Regions from separate parts of the Homo sapiens genome. Here regions 1, 3, 4 and 5 are each linked to region 2. The links are contacts of gene promoters, found by promoter capture Hi-C in blood cells and fetal thymus (Javierre and others, 2016). All regions are on one chromosome and are shown on one strand. Each heading gives the region's core, a stretch centred on a gene start or on the middle of the fragment in contact. The rest is flanking DNA. Distances are from core to core; before and after follow the strand shown.

Region 1 (2,700 bases), core at 90-2,589, 150 kb before region 2:
AACACACGAGCGGTGCGGGGCTGAGGCCCCTCAGAGAAGGTCCTCGCGAGATGGGCCCACTCGCCGCCCGGCTTCTCTCCACAGGCCATTCCGGATCCCCGCAGGGACGGCAAACCACGCAGAGCACGGTGGTCTTGCTGTGACGAGGAGATGAAGGTTGGAGTTTGGAGAAGCTGAAGTGGCTGAAATGGGCTTTATGAGGCAGAGGGGCAGAGAGGAGGGGAACCTGGGATCTGTGCAGGGATCCCCTAGAAGCTGTGGCTGACAGCCACATGCAAATACACAGGAGAAGCCAACACCGGCTGGGCCAAGAGCAACTCGTGGGAACGAAGCAGCCAGCACGGGGCTCCACGTGCGCTGATTCCCAGAGCTCGTCAGGGCGGCCGGCGGAGCATCCTTGGAGCTCTCGCTCCAGGGCACGCAGTGGGGTCTGGGAGTCATAGTGCTGAGTCAGCCCTGGTGAAAAGGCTTCTCTAGACCTGCCCCACCTGCCCTCGCACTGATTTTAAACAAGTCTCAAATGGGTCAAGCTGCCATGTAAATACTTAACTGCAGCCAAACAAAAAACAGCACAGCCAAAACCAGATGCTCGCCAACATCATATTCACCATGTCTGACATCCAGTGAAAACTTACCAGATGGGCAAGGAAGTAGAAAAAAATGTAGCTCTCTCCAGTAGAAAAATCAGCCCATAGAAACAGACTCAGAAATAAAGATATGATGGAATTAGCAGATAAATACATTTAAGCAGCTATTACAAATAAGTTCAGAGATTTAAAGGCAACCGTGCACATAATGAGGAGAGAAATTAAATGTATAAAAAAGTCTAAATATTGTAATATGTGCTGTTTTCTTTCAGTGAATGGAAGAGTTTAACGAAGAAGGAACATTGGAATCAAGAGTTGAGAACATAAGCCAGGCGGGGTGGCTCACGCCTGTCATCCCAGCACTTTGGGAGGCCAAGGCAGGTGGATCACCTGAAGTCAGGAGTTCAAGACCAGCCTGGCCAACATGGTGAAACCCTGTCTCTACTAAAAATACAAAAATTAGCCAGGCGTGGTGGCGCATGCCTGTAATCCCAGCTACTCTAGAGGCTGACACAGGAGAACTGCTTGTACCCAGGAGGTGGAGGTTGTAGTGAGCTGAGATTGCGCCACTGCACTCCAGCCTGGGTGACAGAGTGAGACTCCATCTCAAAAAAAAAAGAAAAAAAGTTGAGAACATTATCACAGCATGTTTTTTTTCTTCTGCATTAGTTCATATTATGAGGGTTTTCTACATACACAAGTAATAGGTAAATCTAAATGTGCTTTCTTGAAGATACATGATGTTTTATTTCAGTCAATGGAAGTATTTAACAAAAAAAAAAAAGAATGCTGGAAGGAAGAGCTAAGAACGTTATTACAACATGTTTCTTTCAGCATTGGTACTTTTCCTTTTTTTTTTTTTGAGACCCAGTCTCGCTCTGTTGCCCAGGCTGAAGTGCAGTAGCACCATCTCGGCTCACTGCAGCCTCCGCCTCCTGGGTTCAAGTGATTCTCCTGCCTCAGCCCCCCGAGTAGCTGGGATTACAGGCGTGTGACACCACACCGGGATAATTTTTGTATTTTTAGTAGAGATGGGGTTTTACCATGTTGTCCAGGCTGGTCTCAAACTCCTGACCTCAGGTGATCTGCCAGCCTTGGCCTCCCAAAGTGCTGGGATTATAGATGTGAGCCACCGCGCCCGGCCCACCAAACATTTATTTATATTTTATTTTTTATTTGTTTATTCATTTTTTTGAGACAGAATCTCACTCTGCTGCCCAGGCTGGAATGCAGTGGCACGATCTGGGCTCACCAAAACCTCCGCCTCCTGGGTTCAAGTGATTCTCCCACCTCAGCCTCTGGAGTATCTGGGACTACAGGCGTGAGCCACCATGCCTGGCTAATTTTTGTATTTTTAGTAGAGACGGGGTTTTACCATGTTGGCCAGGCTGGTCTCGAACTCCTGACCTCAAGTGATCTGACAGCCTTGGCCTCCCAAAGTGCTGGGATGACAGGCGTGAGCCATCACACCCGGCCCACCAAACACTTTTAAACCATCAGAACTCACTTACTATCATAAGCACAGCATCGGGGAAACCGCCCCCATGAGCCAATCACCTCCCATCAGGGTCCTCCCTTGACACATGGGGATTACAATTTGAGATTAGATTTGGGGGGGGACATAGAGCCAAATGATATCATACAGCATACACATTCATCAAAATTCATCAAGTGTAGAGTTAAAATGGATGAGTTTAGCATATGTATTCTGTAATAAAGTTGACTTGAATGTGTATGGGAAATAGAATGCTATCTTTGTTCAAGGAAGTGTTCGCCCCAACGGATAAGAAACACATGAGGACATGAACAATCAGACAAGACAGACGAGGAGATTCTTTGTTTTTGTTTTCCTTTTTGCAGAGATGGGGTCTCACTATGTTAACCAGGCTGGTCTCCAACTCCTGGGTTCCAGCAATCCTCCTGCTTCTGCCTCCCTAAGTGCTGGGATTATAGGTGTGAGCCACCACGCTTGGCAAGAGGAGATTCTTAGTGCAGAATCAAGCAGGAGCACCTTTATGGCTCTTATTACAGACTGAGAAACACCATCCTCTGGCCATGCTCCCTCCAGCAGGCGGCCCCTTCTGCATGTCTTCCCACACCACCCCTGCGTGAC
Region 2 (2,700 bases), core at 65-2,564:
GTTCATTGGGGTCCTCCTGTGTGGTCAGTGGACTCTGTACCCCCACAGCACCTGAGGGGTGGCTGACACTGCTTTCCCAGCTGCTGCAGGGGCTCAGGGAACACAGGTGACCCCACGTCTCTACCGAGAATGAGCACACCAACACCTCTCAGAAGACAGCTGCAGCCTGCAGAGGCCATGGACCCCACCCAGGCCCACGGTGTGGACGGCTCTGCCCTGGTCTCTGCTGAGCCAGGCCCAGAGGGGACCCCAGGTGAGCAGCAAAGCCCCCCAGGCCTGGGGCTAGACCGGGCTAACCCTTCCTGCTCAGCACCTGTTCACCTGTCCCCTCTGCTGGTGGCCTCCTGTCCTCCCGCTCTGGGCTCAGCAGCAGCCCCGTGGAGAGGCCCTGCCACCACCCCCGCCCTGCTGGAGACAGGCCTCCTACGCGGGCTCCTGCAGCCGGTCGCCCTGGGCCTCCTAGAAGCCGGGGATCCTCTGCTGACCACCGGCAGAAAACGTGCTTCTCAAGCTGCAGGTGATTCACCAGTAGTGGGCAAGGAACTGAATGTGGTGATTACTGCGGAGTCAGCAAAACCCGCGTGAGAACGGGCAGCTGAGGGCCTGCCGGGTGAGGGAAGCCTCACGGTTCCTGTTTCATGAGTTTGCTGTGAGTGCACACGAGGCTGTGGCTGTGGAGTGTGCAACAGTCCACGCGTGCCTGCGTGTGCTCATGTGCGTGTGTCCACCAGCTTGTGTGCACGCATATGAGCGAGTGCGTTTTGCTCCCAGCTTGGTCGCAGCGACGGCGCAGGGAACCCCGGGTGAGGCCGAGGACCGGGAAGGGAGGAGGGGGCTCCGACCCATCGGACTTAGGGGAGCCCCGGGTCCGAGACGCCGCCTCTGTCCCTTCAAGAGTCGAGCCTGGCGCACAGGGCAGGGACGCGGGTCCCCACACCGGCCGGCAGCTCGTTCCCGCCCATACTCGGGTACGCCCGCTGCGACCCCGCCCGCCTGGCCTGCGACGCACGCTCAGGGCCAGCGGGGGGTGACGGTCCCAGAGGCAGAGGCGCCGCAGCCCCAGAGTCCCCATCCCTGCGCGGACCGGCAACCCCAGTGCACCAAGAGGCCCTAACACCGAGCCCCCAGCACCGAGTCCCCAGCACCGGGCCCTCAGCACCGAGTCCCCAGCACCGAGTCCCCAGCACCGAGTCCCCAGCACCGAGCCCGCCCCTCTGGTTCCCCCGCCCGCCCCTCTCCGCGCCTCACCGGGTCCGCTCCTGGACGCGCTCCTCTGGGATGCAGCTTCTCCGCGCCCCGGAGCCCCAGGAAAATGAAAGACACGAGAGGGAGGGGCCAGGGAGGAGGCGGCGGACCCGCGCGGGACCCACCTCCCAGATGAGGAAGGAGCTGGGTTTACGGGAAGCCTCCAAGTTTCGGGAACCACCCGCGTTCACAACAAGCGTGACGGTGAATTTATTATTTTCACGGGAGGCACCGCACCCGCGGTTCACGCTAAAGGAAGCAGGAAAGCCGCCGGGAGCATTTTTCCAGGAGAGTTCGTGCCTGGGCGGGTCCAGCTCGCGTGCGGCGCGCGTTCCCCGCGGGGCTGTTTGGCTCCGCTCCTGGAGGCCTCGAGTCTGTGCACGGGGCGAGCTGGGCGGGCCGAGTGGGCCGCGGGGAGGGAGGGCGGGGGGCGGCCCCCAGATGCCTGGGAGTGCGCGGGCAGAGTGAGCTGGACCCCCGGAGGGTCAGAGGCCCTTTCATAAAAGCGCGCAGAGCAGAGGAGTGATGTCCCCCAGCTCCCCCGCAGAGGGTCCTGCACCTGCGGCCTGGGCCTTCAGGCGTCCTGCGGCCCCTGCGGAGGTGCTGGCCTGGCCAGCCCGGGAGGAGGGGCCCAGCCTGTTGGGGCAGGAGATTGGGGTGCGGGTAGAAGGCTCCAAGACGCATCCGGGCCGGGAACCCACAGACATCCCAGGTGGGCAGGAGGTGGCTCGAGGAGGCCTGGAGGACCCGGCGCCTGGCGGGGTGGCAGGCGGGCCACGTCCTCCACTAGAACCCGAGGGGGCACGCGGGCAGGTGCGGGCGGGGTCAAGGATGACCAGGTATCTTCGGGACACTAGGAGGAGGCCCCACAGGCTGCAGTCACGTGAGTGGGCAAGTCCCCACCGGGCAGATGATGGGGGACACTGGGGCGTGGGCAATGCCCCCAGTTTCATGGAAGAGAGGAAGAAGCAGAACCAAACTCCGGGAAACCCTCAAATGTGGGGAATGGACGGAGCAGGGCCAGACTGGACGCTGAACCTTGGAGCCTGCAGCTCAGCCATCAGACCCAGGGTCCAGAGGTGGGTGGCACAGAACAAAGTCCCCCGGGATGTTCCAAAAGAGAAACTGTCGCCAAATTGGCAGGTGAAACACAGCCTGTCATCCTCCCAGCAAGACGGCACCATGGCCGGGGCACAGAGGTCAGATTCCCCAGCCCCCGCCCTCGGGGAAACCCCAGCCACCCTGGCTGCCAGTGAGATGCTGGAGAGGGGGCTGAAATCCCACCTGCCCACGTCCTCTGCACAGAGGGGCTTGTCCCCGAGGCCACATCCCCCAGCAGCCACAGCTTCCTTCTCCTTTTTTCCTGCCTACTAGATCTCTCAACTCAGAGGGGGCTGCAGTTCCTGGGGGCAGGGGGGTCCGGCTGCTTAGGCAGGAGCACCTGCACCGTGAGGC
Region 3 (2,700 bases), core at 92-2,591, 240 kb before region 2:
CTCAGGTGGCCAGCCTGCTAAGGGCCATCAAAGAAATGGAGAGGCAGGGTCCCAAAGCCGGGGCATGGAGGTGGCTGGGAGCCCTAGAGGGGGGTACTCAGCACCCATGCTCACCCGTGTTGGGGTGGGGGCCCGCTGTCCAGGCCAGCCCAAGAGCCACCAGGGCTGGGGAGGGACGAAATGGGGATAGCCTATGCTCTGGGGGAAAGGTGGCCCCTGCCCCACTGTGGACCGACCCAGCCAGTCCAACCCCTCCAGCAGGGTCCAACCTGGAGAACCACTCCTGGCCAGGACACGCAGGTGTTGCCTGGCACCCTTCACCTGCGCGGGTGAACCCACAGACGCTTGCCTCCCCATACCAACCCACACACCACAGGAGGCCCTCCCTGGAGCCCAGGTCCCTAAGACCCGGAACGGGTGCCCAGGCCGCCGGCTCCTCCTCCAGCATGAGGGCTGGTGCGGCCCTGGGGGGAGGGGGCGGAGGCCAGCGCTGGTCTGGCCACTTGCACGAGGCCCCAGGGCCTGATACGCGCGCCGCCCCTCGGCAGTGCGGCCTCCCTTGGGCCGTCCCGGCAGGGAGGCGGCCGCCTTCCCACCCGCTGCGATTCACAGAGGCTTGGCTGCCCCGGGCCAGCTCCAGGCCCGCACGCTGGGTCCTCGCCGCTTGCTATTCACGCGGGGTCGACGGCCAGGCAGGGGGTGGGAACACCGCGGCGCGCCCGGCCTCCCTTCGCCCCGGGCGGGGGCTGCTCGGGACCCCTGCGCTTCGGCCGGGCTGCGCCACGTGATGGGGAGGCCGGTCCCGGCGCGGCCCCTGCGCCCCCCCGTTCCTCCCTCGCGGCGTCCCCTTCGGGCTGGGCCTCGGCTCCGGGGCGGCTCCGGGAGGAGGATGCGGCGGCGCCTTTGTGGGCGCGGGGAGGCCGAGCCGGGGGCTCCTCCAGGCCCTTCAGGGTCCGCGGCCTCCCCCACGGGAAGCGAAGGCGGCTGTTGGTGGCTTTCCCCGGCGTCCTTCCCCCGCCATCCGCCCACCTACTCCGCGGGGCCCCGGGCGCCTCCGAAGGGGCACGAACACCGAGACCCGGACAGGCCGCCCAGGCGACCCCTGGATACGGGGCCGGGCCACGCGCGCCCCGAGAGCGGAGGATGAGGAGCCGGGCCACCCCGGGAACCCCGGGCCCAGCCCCGACCACGACCCGCGCCCCGGCCCCAGCGCCGGCTGCTCGTACCTGGTGAGGGCGCGGGCGGCGGTGCGGGCGGCGGAGAGCGAGGCTGGAGCGCGGCGGAGCGGGAGGCTGAAGCGCGGCGGAGAGGGAGGCCGGGGCCGCTGCCGTCTCTCTGGCTCCCTCTAGGCCGGCGCCGACGCTATTTAAACCGCGGCCATCCCCGGGCGGCCACGCCACATGGGCTGACAGCTTGGCTGCGCCGCCCAGGCCAATGAGCGTCGGGGCTGCGCCCCGGGACCCGGCGCGCCGCCGCCGGTGGGGTGATGCTCGTGCGCGCCGCCGCCCGAGCCGGGACCCTGCGCGGGAACGCGCCTGGGGGGGTGGGGCTGGGACTGAGGAGCGCCGGGGGCGGGGCGGGCGGGAAACCACCGCCCCCCGACTTCCGCCTCCCGCCCCGCGGGCCCCGACGCGCACGCGGCTGCGACCGAGCCCGCGGCGCGCCTCCCGAGCCATCCCCGACCCCCGTGTCCGCCGGGGCCACGTGTGCGGGATGGGAATGCTTGGGCCACACTGGGGACTACCCCGTGGCCACACCGGGGGTCCAGCCGGCTGCGGCGGGGCGCTCGGACCCACAGGCGCGCGGAAGGACGGACGGACCCGCGTGCCCGCACTTCGGCCGCCGACTCCACGCCGCCGTCGCTGCCCGCGCGGAGCTGGCTGAGGGCGCGGCGTTGCGCGGCGCGGCGGCAGCAGCAACCAATCGGGCGCCAGGGGTGTTCGCACCGGCCCAATGGCGGCGCGCGGGTGGGCGTTGCTAGGCGATAGGGTGATGGGCGGGCGGCGGGGCGGTCCCGGATGCCTCGCGGGCCGCGGCGCAAGTGCGGGCGTTGACCCCGGCCGCGGGCGCCCCGGCCGGGGTTACTGCCGGTCATCGCAGCGCATCCCCGGTTTTCCTCGCGGGTGCGGCGGGGAACCCAGACCCGAGACGGACGTCCACCCACCCGACGGCCCCTCCTTAGCAGCTTCCCGGGGACCCGGACGAGGCGCAGGGCCGAACGGGCGAGCGCACTCCAGGCCGCTGGAGCTCGGCGGAGGGGAGGGGCGCGGCCACGTGGCGAGCGGAGTCGGCCGGGACACCCACCTGGTGTGGTGCGGACAAAGGGAGCCGCTGCCCCACTTCCCAGGGCGGAGGCTGCGAGTTTTCCAGGCGCGCACCCACGGGCGGGGGCTCAGCCCGGCCCTCGCGCGCTCCCTCCCTCCCGAGTGATTCCTCGAATCGTGGCCCCTTGGGCGGCCTGAGCCCTGAAGCGCGGCCTCCCTTTTCTGACCGCTTCGCGCTTGCGGGGCCAGGCACCCCATGGGGGGCAAGCGGGCCTTGTGAGGCCACAGGTGTCTCTGGCTGCGTGTCCTACTTTGAGGGCTCAGCAAGCCCGGGCCGCTGAAGGGGAACCGGAGACTGGGGCCCCCGGCCCCTCTGCAGGTGTCCCGCTTCCTTCCTCTCCTGAGAGCAGGCCTGAGGGTCAGGCGGCCACTCCGC
Region 4 (2,700 bases), core at 66-2,565, 240 kb after region 2:
CCTATGGTATAGCTTTTTGGTCAATCCACAGAGGACATCTGAGGGTGAAATGAGATGGTCTGAGGAATCCTATTTGAAAAGATGCCATATGTCTTTCTTTTGTTTGCATTTACGTCCTATGATTTGATTTTTTCATGGTACAAAAGTATTTAATAAGTGACACTTCAGTACAGAAAACACAGAGCTTGTAGCTTGTCCTTTAAAACCAGGACGGCCAAGTGAAAAGTCAGTACAGAGTCTTATTTTTACTATTAAACAAATCAAAGGGACACACTGGGCATTGAACTACTATGCTTTTTCTTCTTTCTAGAGATGACATACGTGTTTTCTGATAAGTAATGTACCACACATTGCACTAAAGCAAAGCAGCAAACAGCCAGTAAAGCTGTGCCCTGCCTGCTGCTCCTGCCGGGCTGGACCAGTGGAACACCATCTCGGTAGGAGAGGAAGAAAATGCAGAGTCCCTAACCCAGAGAGCCTAACAAACTGGTTTATACCGAAGTGATCTTCAGCAAACACGCAAACACACTAACATGCTGTAAGAATGTTTTAGTCTATTTCTAGCACACAGCATAAATTCGTAGGTGCCCAGTCAAATAGGAAGGAACGCCATTGTAGAAAGCATTTTTGCCTTCACAGCACTAACACCTAAAAAGCACACGGCATATAGTACTTTGATCTTTAAGTGGATAAGCATGGAAGTCCCAAGATCATATCCACTAGATTAGCCTGAGTATTCATCTATAAAAATATATATTTTTAAAATAATGCTTAAAAGAGACTTCTAGAAACAGTGGGACTACATCAGGAGCAGAAGACAGCGACACAAGGACTGCAAATGTTAAGACTAGGAGTGGCTTTTCACGTGGAACTTTTATGTAGAGGACGTCTCTTTCTGTTGATTGCTACAGCCGAGACAAGCTGTGATCACAGGAGATTCTGAAATCTCAAGCTGGGCTTGAGTAACACCCTAGATAGACATCAGGAACCCCATTGAGGCTGAAGTACTGAAACTGACCCATGTGAAGAAGAGATAAAGAGATGCAGATGCGCAAAGATTCACGCAGAGCCTGCTGGGACAGAGGGTGGCGGCGGGTTCATCCACACGTCCACACCAGCGTGTGTGCTTGGGTGGCGGCGGCGGGTTCATCCACACCAGCGTGTGTGCTCGGGTGGCGGCGGCGGGTTCGTCCACACGTCCACACCAGCGTGTGTGCTCGGGTGGCGGCGGCGGGTTCGTCCACACCAGCGTGTGCTCGGGTGGCGGCGGCGGGTTCGTCCACACCAGCGTGTGTGCTCGGGTGGCGGCGGCGGGTTCGTCCACACCAGCGTGTGTGCTCGGGTGGCGGCGGCGGGTTCGTCCACACCAGCGTGTGTGCTCGGGTGGCGGCGGCGGGTTCGTCCACACCAGCGTGTGTGCTCGGGTGGCGGCGGCGGGTTCGTCCACACCAGCGTGTGTGCTCGGGTGGCGGCGGCGGGTTCGTCCACACCAGCGTGTGTGCTCGGGGAAGGACCCCCCAAGTGGAGTGCTGGACATGGGCTCGCTCCAGAGGCGTCTGACTCAGAAGCTCCTGAGAGAAGTGTCTCCTTGAGGAGGGGAGGAATACTACGGTTAATGAATACAAGAAGGTGTTTCAGGAGAAATAGGTCTAGGAGGGTTAAGTCATTTTGGTTTTGACCTGTCAATACTTAACATAAATGAAGAATTACAAAACAGAGTCAGTCTTTTTCCAAGATGTATTCTGTCATCATGAGCTGAGCCTGTTGGGCTGGTGACATCCAGAATGTTCCAATTCATTGGCTGGAGGGAGGACCCAGTGCCGCAGATTGTTCTGGGAAGCTGGCACAGAAGATGATTGACACAACGAAGTCACCACTAAGCCACTGCTTAAGTCTAGTCCTCGGCCTTCTTTTTCTGCTCTGTAGTCCAAAACCGTGAACGTAGCAGCATGTCGAATATGTCACCAGCTGCTTCATTTTTATGGTGCTGTAATGTGGTGGTGAAAGCTGCCATGTTGAATCCAGAAATCCGCTCCAGCAGCTGTTCTTCAATATATTTTTCTACCAAAAAAATGTATGCAGGCTGGGTGCGGTGGCTCACGCCTGTAATCCCAGCACTTTGGGAGGCTGTGGCCGGCAGATCACCTGTGGTTGGAGGGTTCGAGACCAGATGACCAACACGGAGAAACTACATCTCTACTAAAAATACAATATTATTAGCGGGGTGTGGTGGTGCGTGCCTGTAATCCCAGCTACTCAGGAGGCTGAAGCAGGAGAATTGTTTGAACCCACATGGCGGAGACTGCGGTGAGCTGATACCGCGTCATTGCACTCCAGCCTGGGCAACAAGAGCAAAACTCCGTCTCAAAAAAAGAAAAAGAAAAAAAGAAATGTATTCATTAAAAATAGGTGTGTAGGTGAGTTTATTCTCTTCCGTGTCTTCAAACTCCAGGTAGTACTTGTCCATGTAATTTCTCTGTAATAACTGGAACTCGTTATCCATGATAACGTTCTCTAAATATCCAACCACAACAGCAAATTCATCAGAGGTGGAGGAGAAAGACAGCACAAAGCTCTCTTCTTCTAAGGTGTCCATCACTGCAGCCCCGAGCAGGCTCCTACCCCGCCTGTGGCCCAACCTGCATGCAGGGCGTGGCGGGCGGCCGGGTTAAGGTCTCGCAGCCAAAGCTGCGGCGTGCT
Region 5 (2,700 bases), core at 110-2,609, 170 kb after region 2:
CTGTCCACTGTGTATTCTCTTTGGCAACGCTCTAGACACTTTGAGGGTTGCTGTCAGATCTGGCCCAACCTCTCCTATGTGACGGGAAGGATTTCAGGCATTTCAAGTGCCCCGCGCAGTGACTGGCCCGGAATTCCGCGCGTCTTCCCGGTAGCGTTTTTCCTTTGTCTTTGGTAGAGGACTGGGGGTGGGTGGGGGGGTGGGTCTCACACTGTTGCTCACGCTGGTCTCGAACTCCTGAGCTCCGTGGATCCTCCCGCCTCGGCCTCCTACGCGCTGGGAGTGCAGGTGTGAGCAACCCCGCCCGGCCCAGAGCGGCTTAATACCAGCTTTCCAGCGTTGTGATTTCCGGAGAAACGCAGGCTGACTTCCATGTTTACTATTCACTCTTCTTCACTAATGACACCACGTACATTCTGTTCGTGATTTCTGTGTGACTCAAGTCCACAAATCCTTCGTGTGCTATGCGGAGCCTTTGTGATTGTTGAGGGTTCTCAAGATACTCACTGATGGGGCCGGGCGCGGTAGCCCATGCCTGTAATCCCAGCACTTTGGGAGGCCGAGGCGGGTGGATCACAAGATCAAGAGATCGAGACCATCCTGGCCAACATGGTGAAACCCCGTCTCTACTAAAAATACAAAAATTAGCCGGGCGTGGTGGTGTGTGCCTGTAATCCCAGCTATCGGGAGGCTGAGGCAGGAGAATCACTTGAACCTGGGAGGCGGAGGTTACAGTGAGCCGAGATCGTGCCACTGCCCTCCAGCCTGAGTGACAGTGAGACTCTGTCTCAAAAAAAAAAAAAAAAAAAAAAACCGGTATTCATTTATGTAAAAGACTCCCTGATGTAGGTAATGTCGGTCTGGTTTAAAAACCTATACAACCAAACAACATAGGCAATGTTTAGTCTTAGGAAAGACTAACCAACATCAGGTGGCAGTTTTTCTGTTTAAAAAAACCTATTTTGGCCGGGAGTGGTGTTTCACCCCTGTAATCCTAGCACTTTGAGAGGCCTACGTGGACAGATTGCCTGAGTTCAGGAGTTCAAGACCAGCCTGGACAACATGGTGAAACCCCGCCTGTACTAAAATACAAAAAATTAGCGCGGCGTGGTGGCGCCTGTAATCCCAGCTACTCGAGAGGCTGAGGCAGGAGAATCGCTTGAACCCGGGAGGCGGAGCTTCAGTGAGCCGAGATGGTGCCATTGGACTCCAGCCTGGGTGACAGAGCGAGACTCTGTCTCCAAAAAAAAAAATGGTTTCAAAATGTTTTGAGAAGCATCTGTTTTGTCTGATGTGTTTTAGTTGATTAAGTGCAAGTTGCAGGATCGGAATCTTGAACAATAAATCTTCCACTAAAAAGTGTTGAGTGGAATTACTGCTCGTCGTAACAGGTGTAATGAGACAGCGTGGTACTGAAACCAGCAAATTTGTGGGTGTGTCTGTGGCCAGCCCAGTGTGTGTCCTGCTGACTGGACCAGCTGTGGTTTTCCTGTCTGTGACCTTCAGCTCCCTTCTGCATCTTTGCTTTCTGTTTGGTGTGTTCTCTCATAATGTCTGTATCGTCATTTTCATTCTCCATATTTTTTTAGTTACGACGATTCTTTTCCTTCATGGTTTTGACCATTAGTGTTTTTAATTTCTGTTGTGATACAGTACTTTGTCTTGAGCTCCACAATTGTGTAATAAAATAACAATACACTGGCCGGATGCGGTGGCTCACGCCTGTAATCCCAGTACTTTGGGAGGCTGAGGTGGGCGGATCACGAGGTCAGGAGATCGAGACCATCCTGGCTAACACAATGAAACCCCATCTCTACTAAAAATACAAAAAATTCACCGGGCGCGGTGGCTCACGCCTGTAATCCCAGCACTTTGGGAGGCCAAGGCAGGCGGATCGTGAGGTCAGGAGATCAAGACCATCCTGGCTAACGTGGTGAAACCCCGTCTCTACTAAAAATACAAAAAATTAGCTGGGTGTGGTGGTGGATGCCTGTAGTTCCAGCTACTTGGGAGGCTGAGGCAGGAGAATGGCGTGAACCCGGGAGGCGGAGCTTGCAGTGAGCCCAGATCACGCCACTGCACTCCAGCCTGGGCGACAGAGCGAGGCTCCGTCTCAAAAAAAAAAAAAAAAAAATACAAAAATTTAGCCGGGCATGGTGGCATGCGCCTGTCGTCCCAGCTACTCGGGAGGCTGAAGCAGGAGAATCGCTTGAACCTAGGAAGTGGAGGTTGCAGTGAGCAGAGATCATGTCACTGCACTCCAGCCTGGGCGACAGACAGAGACTCCATCAATAAATAAACAAAATAACAATACACCACACATACTGACTTGCGAGTGTGTGAAGGGGTTCTGTCCTGAGAACACACATCTCTTCAGCTACTTTTGCTGTGTTATTAGCAATTTGTGTGTTATTTCTTCTGGAACTTCCAGAATTTCTCAGGACAATTGCATATGTTTCAGATGTGCAAAGCCTTGATGTGACTTCACACTCCAGGGATCACAGTTGGTGCTGCCACAGGCGTGTGCCCTGCAAGCACAGGCATTCCAAGAAATGGTTCACTGCAGCAAAATTTCTGCTGTGGGGCAGGGACCAGCTCCATAGAATCTGCCCTCCAGGAGGGATTTCCCATCCTGACCAGCATTCAAGAGTAGGTTCTCTGCTCACACTATGGGAGTCAGATGTTCGGAGAATGTTCCAG

What was found. The method cuts DNA at HindIII sites, captures the fragments that hold promoters and counts their contacts. A CHiCAGO score of 5 or more calls a contact.
Region 1: a fragment that was not itself captured here is called in contact with the fragment with the promoter of SECTM1 in region 2 in 2 of 17 cell types (naive CD4 T cells and naive CD8 T cells); the score reaches 6.1 in naive CD4 T cells.
Region 3: a contact is called between the fragment with the promoter of FASN here and the fragment with the promoter of SECTM1 in region 2, in 10 of 17 cell types (total CD4 T cells, M0 macrophages, non-activated CD4 T cells and 7 more). The highest score is 11.5, in total CD4 T cells.
Region 4: a fragment that was not itself captured here is called in contact with the fragment with the promoter of SECTM1 in region 2 in 1 of 17 cell types (activated CD4 T cells); the score reaches 5.4 in activated CD4 T cells.
Region 5: a fragment that was not itself captured here is called in contact with the fragment with the promoter of SECTM1 in region 2 in 1 of 17 cell types (activated CD4 T cells); the score reaches 6.0 in activated CD4 T cells.

Annotation. Positions count from the first base shown.
Region 1 is chr17:82,180,923-82,183,622 of GRCh38, forward strand. The region is part of intron 8 of CCDC57 (coiled-coil domain containing 57); the gene reads right to left. Among named protein-coding and RNA genes, the nearest start is that of CCDC57, 31 kb to the right of the region's middle. RefSeq lists an enhancer at 1-693. The HindIII fragment of the contact is 7,884 bases long and covers 1-2,700 here.
Region 2 is chr17:82,332,452-82,335,151 of GRCh38, forward strand. It overlaps SECTM1 (secreted and transmembrane 1), which reads right to left and starts at 1,315. Exons shown (of 5, transcript NM_003004.3): 1 at 1,249-1,315. RefSeq lists enhancers at 1-621, 2,669-2,700. The HindIII fragment of the contact is 7,811 bases long and covers 1-2,700 here.
Region 3 is chr17:82,096,895-82,099,594 of GRCh38, forward strand. It overlaps FASN (fatty acid synthase), which reads right to left and starts at 1,342. Exons shown (of 43, transcript NM_004104.5): 1 at 1,227-1,342. RefSeq lists an enhancer at 1-566 and silencers at 435-484, 545-754, 775-964, 1,035-2,514. The HindIII fragment of the contact is 59,862 bases long and covers 1-2,700 here.
Region 4 is chr17:82,574,797-82,577,496 of GRCh38, forward strand. All of the region lies in intron 4 of FOXK2 (forkhead box K2), which reads left to right. It also overlaps the pseudogene ARL2BPP9. Among named protein-coding and RNA genes, the nearest start is that of FOXK2-AS1, 12 kb to the right of the region's middle. The HindIII fragment of the contact is 4,658 bases long and covers 1-2,700 here.
Region 5 is chr17:82,497,860-82,500,559 of GRCh38, forward strand. No RefSeq gene overlaps it. Among named protein-coding and RNA genes, the nearest start is that of TRX-CAT1-8, 4.4 kb to the left of the region's middle. The HindIII fragment of the contact is 2,729 bases long and covers 1-2,700 here.